Regions from separate parts of the Homo sapiens genome. Here region 1 is linked to region 2. The links are contacts of gene promoters, found by promoter capture Hi-C in human tissues and cell types (Jung and others, 2019). All regions are on one chromosome and are shown on one strand. The core of a region is centred on a gene start or on the middle of the fragment in contact, and the rest is flanking DNA. Distances in the headings are between cores, read along the strand shown. Region 1 overlaps MAPK14 (mitogen-activated protein kinase 14). Region 2 holds the start of TULP1 (TUB like protein 1).

Region 1 (4,192 bases), core at 1,124-3,623, 530 kb before region 2:
ATTAGGTTTGAAAGTACAAATTTGGAAGGATAGTATATGAACAAGACCATTGTTGAGACTATCAGATAATGAATTCAAAAAGAATATGCACAGAAAGAGAAAAGAAAATTTAAGAATGGATCATGGAGCAGAAAGAAAAGAGGAAGAAAAAACTGACCAATGGATGAAATAGGAGAATTAGAGAAACACAAGGAAAAATCTGAATAGCAGAGTACTTTAAGGTGGTGTTTAAAAAAAAAAAAAAGAGCACAATAAATGTTAAGATGTATACATTGTGACACTAAAGTTAGTTACTGCCTCACACCCTTAAAGTAATTAAAGCAGTAGCAATGATAATTCAGGAAAATGCATTGTATCTTCTAAGGTACCAGAATACATAATGTGCCTAAATGACATTCTAAATCAAAGAAGGCTGATCTTCCTGAGTTACTGCTACCTGAGATCCACAAGATCTTCAAAATTTCAGTCTGTTATTACCTAATATTTTTAAAACTAAGCAAGCCTTCCCAGATGCAAGAACCTTCAAAAACATACAGAAAATTAATTCACAATGTACTACTTCTTGCTCCTTAGTTTATGTGCAGCTCTCTTTGTGGTCTTCTAAACAGCATTTTATTTCTAGGAGTTTGAAAACGCTAAATACTGAAAGAAGACAGGAGAGAAAGGACACAGAATACCAGAAGAGACACTAGGGAAAATGCTACCTACCTACCAACTTGGACTTCATGCTAATTTCCTTTCCAGAAAAAATTCAAAACACCCTAAGTTGGGGCCATGACAATGACAAAACACAATTATTCATGAAAATTGGGTCTCCCTCACTAATTAGTTGTTTCTCAAATGTGCCAGTGATACACCTGGCCTCTTGCAAACATGCTTGTGCAAGTTCTCCCATCCATTAAGCTTATTGGGTTATAGCTAGGACCTTGACCATTAGAAATGCTGTTACTCTCCTAGAAATAACAAAAATCATGTTTAGAGAGGCCCAATTTATAATGCAGAAAGTATAGCATTTCTGCCTTTTTGCAGGTGGAAGGTTCATGTTATCCCATCTAGTTTTTACTCAATCAAATATACAGGGTTATCAATCCAAATATATAGGGTTATATAAGTGGTTCTCAACTAAAGGTGATTTTGCCCTCCCTACCCGTCAAGAGATATGTGGCAATGTCTAGACATTTTTGGTTGTCACAACTGGGAATTGCTATTAGTATACAGTGAGTTGGAGACAGGGATGCTGCTAAACATACTACACTGCACAGGTCAGTCCCCCACAACAAAACATTATCCCACCTAAAGTGTCAATAGGTTGAATTACCCTGGGTTATACAGGTTGAGTATCCCTAATCTGAAAATCCAAAACCTAAAATGCTTCAAGATCCAAAACTACAGAGGACTTCCAAAGCCATCTATGAGGAAACATAAATATGTCTCCTCTGGACTGATACTTTCTTTTTTTTTTTTTTTTTGAGACTGAGTCTTGCTCTATCGCCCAGACAGGAGTGCAGGGGAGTGATCTCGGCTCACTGCAACCTCCGCCTCCCGGGTTCAAGTGATTCTTGTGCCTCAGCCTCCTGAATAGCTGGGATTACAGGCACACACCACCATGCCCAACTAATTTTTGTAGAGATGGGGTTTCACCATGTTGGCCAGGCTGATCTCAAACTCCTGACCTCAAGTGATCCGCCCACCTTGGCCTCCCAAAGTGCTGGGATTACAGGCGTGAGCCACTGCACCCAGCCTGGACTGATACTTTCGAAAGGAGGGACCCTTCTTTTTTTTAAAATCTCTGTAAACAAAATATCTAGTATAGTGCACTGGAAATATTAAATTAATGAACTTACGAAAACAAAGAACAAAACTGGTATGCTTTTTTTCTTCACATGCTCAGATTGTGTGGTGTCTACATTTTAAGCCATAAGTTTGAAAATGCAATCAATACACACTTTTGAGTAGAATGACAGTAAGACACACATACTCACACACACACACACCTTCCTTCATATCACAGGCACAGTGACAATATCACCAAGGCCTAAGAGAAGTAAGTTTTGAGGAAAATAAGGAATTTGTAACCACATATTCAAATAACAGGAGCCAACATGTTCAGGGTCTAATGGTACTCAGACAGCAGGTCTAGACAAAATAAACATTTGTTCTATTACCTTTTTGTTATGTTGCCATGGGAATCTATGTTTGCAGGAAAACTTATTTTCTGCAACCTGATGATAGAGCAGTAAAAGAGGGGGAGCTCTGATGAAAAGAGGAGAGGGGTTTACATCTGTAAAGGCAGGGAGGACAATAAATAATATGGGTTTTTATAGGATCACATGTCTGTAGATAATCTTTCAATCTATATGATATATTTAAGTTTAACAGAGAAGTCCTTGGGGCCTCAAAGCTAAGACATTAATGACAGATAACAATGGTCTAACCTCTACTAAAAGTATTATAATGGGGAAAAGGCAGAGGAATGTAAAGCAGAAAAAGGGTCAAATAAAATCAAATAAAACTTAAATGTTTAACTGTTGAAAGAAGGTAAAAATGACTTTTAAAACATGATCCAAAAGTAAGAAAAACCCTAAAAGCCAAAGAAGTTAAAAAACACTCAATCTGCCAGCAGACTAATCTTCCTTTTTCAGCTAAACTCAAGAGCTAATCTCTGCTCCTTCCTTTTGGCAACAAAAACCTGAAAAAGTAAAGTCAGCCCATGTTATTTAAAGAGCTGGACTGGAATACCCTAAATTTCTAGGGCCCAACAAAAATACTGGCTCTGGCACTCTGGGACTGCTGGAATGAGAGTTGTGAGCATGGGTCAGGGCTTGCACCAATTCATCTAACTCCACCGTTCTATCCTATTCACAGTAGTGGTTTAGGGTAGAATGGGTAAGGAACCGAAACGAAAAACTTGGGACCCTAGAGCACAGTAATCTGTTAAAACAAGATTTAGGTCATGTCCTTCCTCTGGTCATAACCCTCCAAGGCTTCCCCTCTCACTTAAAGGAAAAGTCACAGTCTGTACAAAGGCAAATAAGACCCTACATGATCCCTGCATATCTGCAACCCTCTCCTCACCCCACTTTTCTCCCTATATTTGGCCCCTGGTTCATTTAGCTCTAGCTGTACTGGTCTCTTAGCTATTTCCTGGAGCACAGGGCCCTTACCTCAGGGCTTTTGCACACTTGCTAATCCTCAGCCTAGAATGTTATCACATCCTCACCCATGTCCAACCAGTGTCCTATATCACCTTCTTCAGGTTTTTGCTCAATTGTTACTTTATCAATGATGCTTACCGTATTCACCTTTCTTAAAAGTGCAACAGCCATCCTAGCACTCACTCTCCTTCCCTTCTTGCATTTTCTCCACAGCACTTATCTGACACACTATATATTTTGTTTATTATCTACTTCCACTGCCATCCCCATTAGAATATAGCTTCCTTTTTTTTTTCTTTTTGGAGACAGGGTATCACTCTGTCACCCAAGCTGGAGTACAGTGGCAGGATCACAGCTCACTACAGCCTCAACTTCCCAGGCTCAAGCAATCCTCTTAGGCTCAAGCAATCCCTCCACCTCAGCCTCCCAAGTAGTTGGAACTACAGGAGTGTGCCACCAAGCATCCCTAATTTTTTATTTTTATTTTTTAGTAGAGGAGCCTCCCCATTTTTCCCAGGATGCTGGTTTCTAACTACTGGGCTCAAGGAAACCTACCTTGGCCTCCCAAAGTGCAGGAATTACAGGTGTGAGCCACTCACTGCACCTGGCCAGAATATAGCTTCTTAAGGCAGAAATTTTTGTCTCTTTTGTTCACATTTCATCTCCAGCACTTACGGCAAACCATACATGGTAGGCACTCAAGGTATAATGAGTCCTGTCCTCAAGGAGATTACCATGAACCTATGCTCCTTCCCCTTTCTCTCTACAATCTTGTACCCTGTAACACTCTTTTGTAACTTTGTAACACAAAGTTCAGAAAATGGCACTAAAATATATCCATTTGCCCAAGGCCAAAACTTAGAAATCCTAGACTCCTCACTCTCCTATACTTCTTTCCCCCAACATTCAGCCTTGGAGCCAAGCATGCCCAAAACCCAGTATCCATTTGTCAAGTACAGAATTTACAAACCACCACTTCTTCTTCCCTATAATAAATTATTAAAAGACTTGAACACTGCACGGGAAAGCTGGTTAAT
Region 2 (4,236 bases), core at 1,373-3,872:
CTCAGAAGGCTGAGGCGGGAGAATTGCTTGAATCTGGGAGGCGAAGGTTGCAGTGAGCTCAGATTGCACCACTGCACTCCAGCCTGGGTGACAAGAGTGAGACTCCATGTCAAAAAAAAAAAAAAAAATTCCTTCCTCAGGGCAGGGCATGGTAGCTCATGCCTGTAATCCCAGCACTTTGTGAGGCCAAGGCAGGCGGACCACTTGAGGTCAGGAGTTTGAGATCAGCCTGGCCAACATGGTGAAACCCCTTGTCTACTAAAAATACAAAACATAGCCAGGTGCCTGTAATCCCACCTACTCAGGAGGCTGAGACAGGAGAATTGCTTGACCCTGGGAGGCAGAGGTTGCAGTGAGCTGAGATCGTGCCATTGCACTCCAGCCTGAGTGACAGAACAAGACTCCATCTCAAAAAACAAAACAAAACAAAACGAAACCTTCCTTCCTCAGGCAGCCTTGCCTGTACTCTAAATCCAGACTGGAACCCACCTGCTGGTCTCGTGGAGCCCAGTTCCTTTCCTTCTTGGCATTTCTCACAACTAATAATAATGAGATCATTATCACTAATTTGGGTATTTATGTCTCTACTATCTGTCTCTCTCACAAGCATGTAAGCTGCACGAGGGCGGGGACCACATCATGTTGTTCATCTCTGTATGACCATTATTTAGCATAGCGCTTGGCACACAATAGGTGCTCAGGAAATACTTGTTGACTGACACTCAGCTGTCAGTTTCCTCACCTTTAATATCAGGGTGTTTTCGTTTGGTTGTTTGGTTGTTTGGTTTTGTTTTTGAGACAGGGTCTCACTCCATTGCCCAGGCTGGAGTGCTGTGGCACTGTCTTAGCTCACTGCAGCCTCTGCCTCCTGGGCTCAAGTCATCCTCCTGCCTCAGCCTCCCAAGTAGCTGGGACCTCAGGCATGTACCACATTGCTCAGCTAATTTTTAAATTTTTTGTAGAGACAAAGTCTCACTATGTTGCTCAGCCTGGTCTTGAGCTCCTGGGCTCAAGTGATCCTCCCAAAGTGCTGGGATTACAGGCATAAGCCACTGCTCCTTGCCCTAATATCAGGGTGTTAATGTCTGTCTCATAAATATTATTGTGAGGGTGGAGTCAGAATGGGAGCAAGCCACAGTAGGTGGACAATAAATGCTATTATTATTATATGGTCAGAGCCAACTGAGGACTGAGGCCTCTCCGAAGTGGCGACTTGAGGACTGTTTAGAGTTGGATAGGTTTCATGGAATAGGGAGGGCGTTCCGGGAGGGAACAGCCTGAGCAAAGGCATGGAGGACAGAACTGTAAAGGCAGTAAGGAAACCTCTGTGGCTGGATGAAGAGTATGGCTTGGGATAACCCTGTGGTTAGAAAGGCAGACTGGGGCCAGATCAGGGAGAGCCTTGAATGTCAACCCAACACATTTAAACTTAATCCTTAGGCAGTAGGGAGCCAATGAATGTTTTTGAACAAAGGTGGCAACCGAAGAAATAGTATTTTAGAAAGTTCCATTTGATATGGATTTACTGTAATTAGCCAGGATCGTGCCACTGCACTCCAGCCTGGGTGACAAGAGCAAAATTCTGTCTAAAACAAAACAAAACAATACCACAAAAGCATGTCCCCTATCAGTGAAAAAAGAAAAAGAGTTAAGGGTATACCTCCAATACAGACATATTCTTTTTTTTTTTTTTTTTTCTGAGATGTAGTCTTGCTCTTTTTGGCCAGGCTGGAGTGCATTGGCAAGATCTCGGCTCACTGCAACCTCCGCCTCCCAGGTTCAAGTGCTTCTCCTGCCTCAGCCTCCCCAGTAGCTGGGACTACAGGTGCCCACCACGATGCCCAGCTAATTTTTTATTTATTTATTTATTTATTTTGAGACGGAGTCTCACTCTGTTGCCCAGGCAGGAGTGCAGTGGCATGATTTCCGCTCACTGCAAGCTCCGCCTCCCAGGTACACGCCATTCTCCTGCCTCAGCCTCCTGAGTAGCTGGGACTACAGGTGCCTGCCGCCATGCCCGGCTAATTTTTGCATTTTTAGTAGAGATGAGGTTTCACCATGTTAGCCAGGATAGTCTCGATCTCCTGACCTTGTGATCCGTCTGCCTCGGCCTCCCAAAGTGCTGGGATTACAGGGGTGAGCCACCGCACCCGGCTAATTTTTGAATTTTTAGTAGAGACTGGGTTTCACTGTGCCGGCCAGGCTGGCCTCGAACTCCTGACCTCAAATGATCCACCTGTCTCAGCCTCCCAAAGTGCTGGGATTACAGGTGTAAACCACCGCACCTGGCTCTAGTTCTTATTTTTTGTGAGAAATAAAGATAAATACAGGATCCAGTCTAATGTTTTCTTCCACATCCCATTGACAAATGACTAATCGGCCCCTCTCACCCCAAGCTTCTGGGGGCTTCTCGGGGCAGGTGGAGCTGGTGGCCATCCTGCAGGCTGCTGGGGATCTGAGAAGAACTGGAGTTGAGATTCTTCCCCCAGTGGCCTGGGCCTAGCAGGGGAGGGTCGTGGGCTGTAGCACCTCCCACAGCGCGGCCAGGCCTCCACTCCTTGAGCAGGGGGAAGGGGGGTGAAGTTGAGCCGAGATTAGCAGGAGTCGGGAGGGAGGCTCCTAGACCTGCAGAGAAAGGGGTGCGATAGGCAAAGGCACCATGCCTCTGCGGGATGAAACCCTCCGAGAGGTGTGGGCCTCTGACAGGTCTGGAAGGCCCCCAGTTCGTGGCACCTGAACCCTGGGGGGCCTAGATGGAGGGATGGGGAGTGGGTGGGATGGGGAGGGAAGGGGAAGGGAGACAGGCTGATCCCTTTGCTACCCTCAGTGGGCATGAAGAAGAAAGCCTGAGCCCGGAGGCCCCGCGGCGCCCCAAACAGGTATGCCACCCCACTTGGAAAGGAAGCAGAAAGATGTCCCCGCTGTGCGTAAACCCACGCAGGGTAGGGGGTCTAGGGGTGGGACAGGTCCCCCTTAGCAGGGTCTGGGGGTTGCATGTCTGGAGATCTGGGGGGAGAAAGGGCTGTTTGGGGACTTGGGGTTTCCAGGGAAGGAATAGGGACTTTGGAGCATTGGATATGGCCACGATGCATGGAAGGGGTCATCCTGCCTCACTCCAAGAAGGGGGCTGCAGTTCCCCCCGGATAATCTGCGGTTATTTCTGGCGGCTCAAGGGATTAGAGGGGGATGGGCGGGCCTCAGCGCCCCCCTTTCCTTCCTCGACCTCCTCTTGACCCCCGTTCCGCAGCGACCCGCCCCGGCACAGAGGCTAAGGAAGAAGAGGACGGAGGCCCCCGAATCCCCCTGCCCCACGGGATCCAAGCCCCGGAAGCCCGGAGGTGGGCGGGGTGCAGAGCCCGGGTGGACCCCCAGGGTGTGGGCTGCGGAAGGGAGGGGCTTGAGGGCCGGCGCGGGTGTCGCCGAGCCCTGGAACGGGGTGGGGGAGGAGGGGGCGGGGAGTGATGAGAGGGGAGGGATTGGGGTTGGGGTTGGGGTTGGGGTTGGTGTAGAAGGGGGTGGCGTTGGGGTAGAAGGGGGTGGGAAGCTGAATGGAAGCCGGGGAGAAGTGTTGAAAGTGGAAACCCAAGCCCAGGGGAGATCCCTAGGGTGAGGAGCCCGAGGGGGTGCGCCCAGGCTTGGGGGTAGCGGGTAGAGGCGCTGCCTCGCGGACCCGCGGATGGGACCCTGTCTGAACCCCGCATCTCGGCTCAGCTGGGCGGACGGGGAGGCCGCGGGAGGAGCCTTCCCCAGACCCAGCCCAGGCCCGGGCGCCGCAGACGGTCTACGCCAGGTTCCTCAGGGACCCCGAGGCCAAGAAGCGCGACCCCCGGGAAACCTTTCTGGTAGCCCGTGCCCCAGACGCGGAGGACGGTGAGAGAGGGCCCCAGGGACGCGGGTGAGGGGGCGGTGGAGCTAAGGAGAGAAGGGGCTGGCTGGACGGGAACGGCCCAGAGAGGCAGAAAACAACTGTAGTCAAATAGCCCCCACTTTTCTGGCCTTATCTTTGAGCCAGGTATTGTGCTAAGCACCAACTATGAGAGGGTGCTTTGTTCCCCCCCTCCACCATTGTACAGATGGAGAAACTGAGTCATAGAGCCGTTAAGGGTTTTTGCCTTAACCAGCAGTTAGGAGCCAGAAGTAGCCCAGATGGGTCTGACTCAAGGTCAGAAACAGACAAGGTCAGGGAGAAGCACAGTGGATGCAGGGAGATGGGGAAAGGAGGCAAGGCGAGCGTGT

The links. Contacts are between HindIII fragments. The study calls those that stand out against the background at their distance.
Region 1: a contact is called between a fragment that was not itself captured here and the fragment with the promoter of TULP1 in region 2, in 1 of the 25 tissues and cell types used here (small bowel).

The regions. Positions count from the first base shown.
Region 1 is chr6:36,037,273-36,041,464 of GRCh38, reverse strand. The region is part of intron 1 of MAPK14 (mitogen-activated protein kinase 14); the gene reads right to left. Among named protein-coding and RNA genes, the nearest start is that of MAPK14, 12 kb to the right of the region's middle. RefSeq lists a silencer at 2,795-2,844. The HindIII fragment of the contact is 3,983 bases long and covers 382-4,192 here.
Region 2 is chr6:35,511,282-35,515,517 of GRCh38, reverse strand. TULP1 (TUB like protein 1) reads left to right here and starts at 2,622. Exons shown (of 15, transcript NM_003322.6): 1 at 2,622-2,706; 2 at 2,828-2,879; 3 at 3,248-3,338; 4 at 3,712-3,870. The coding sequence starts at 2,660. The HindIII fragment of the contact is 7,738 bases long and covers 1-4,236 here.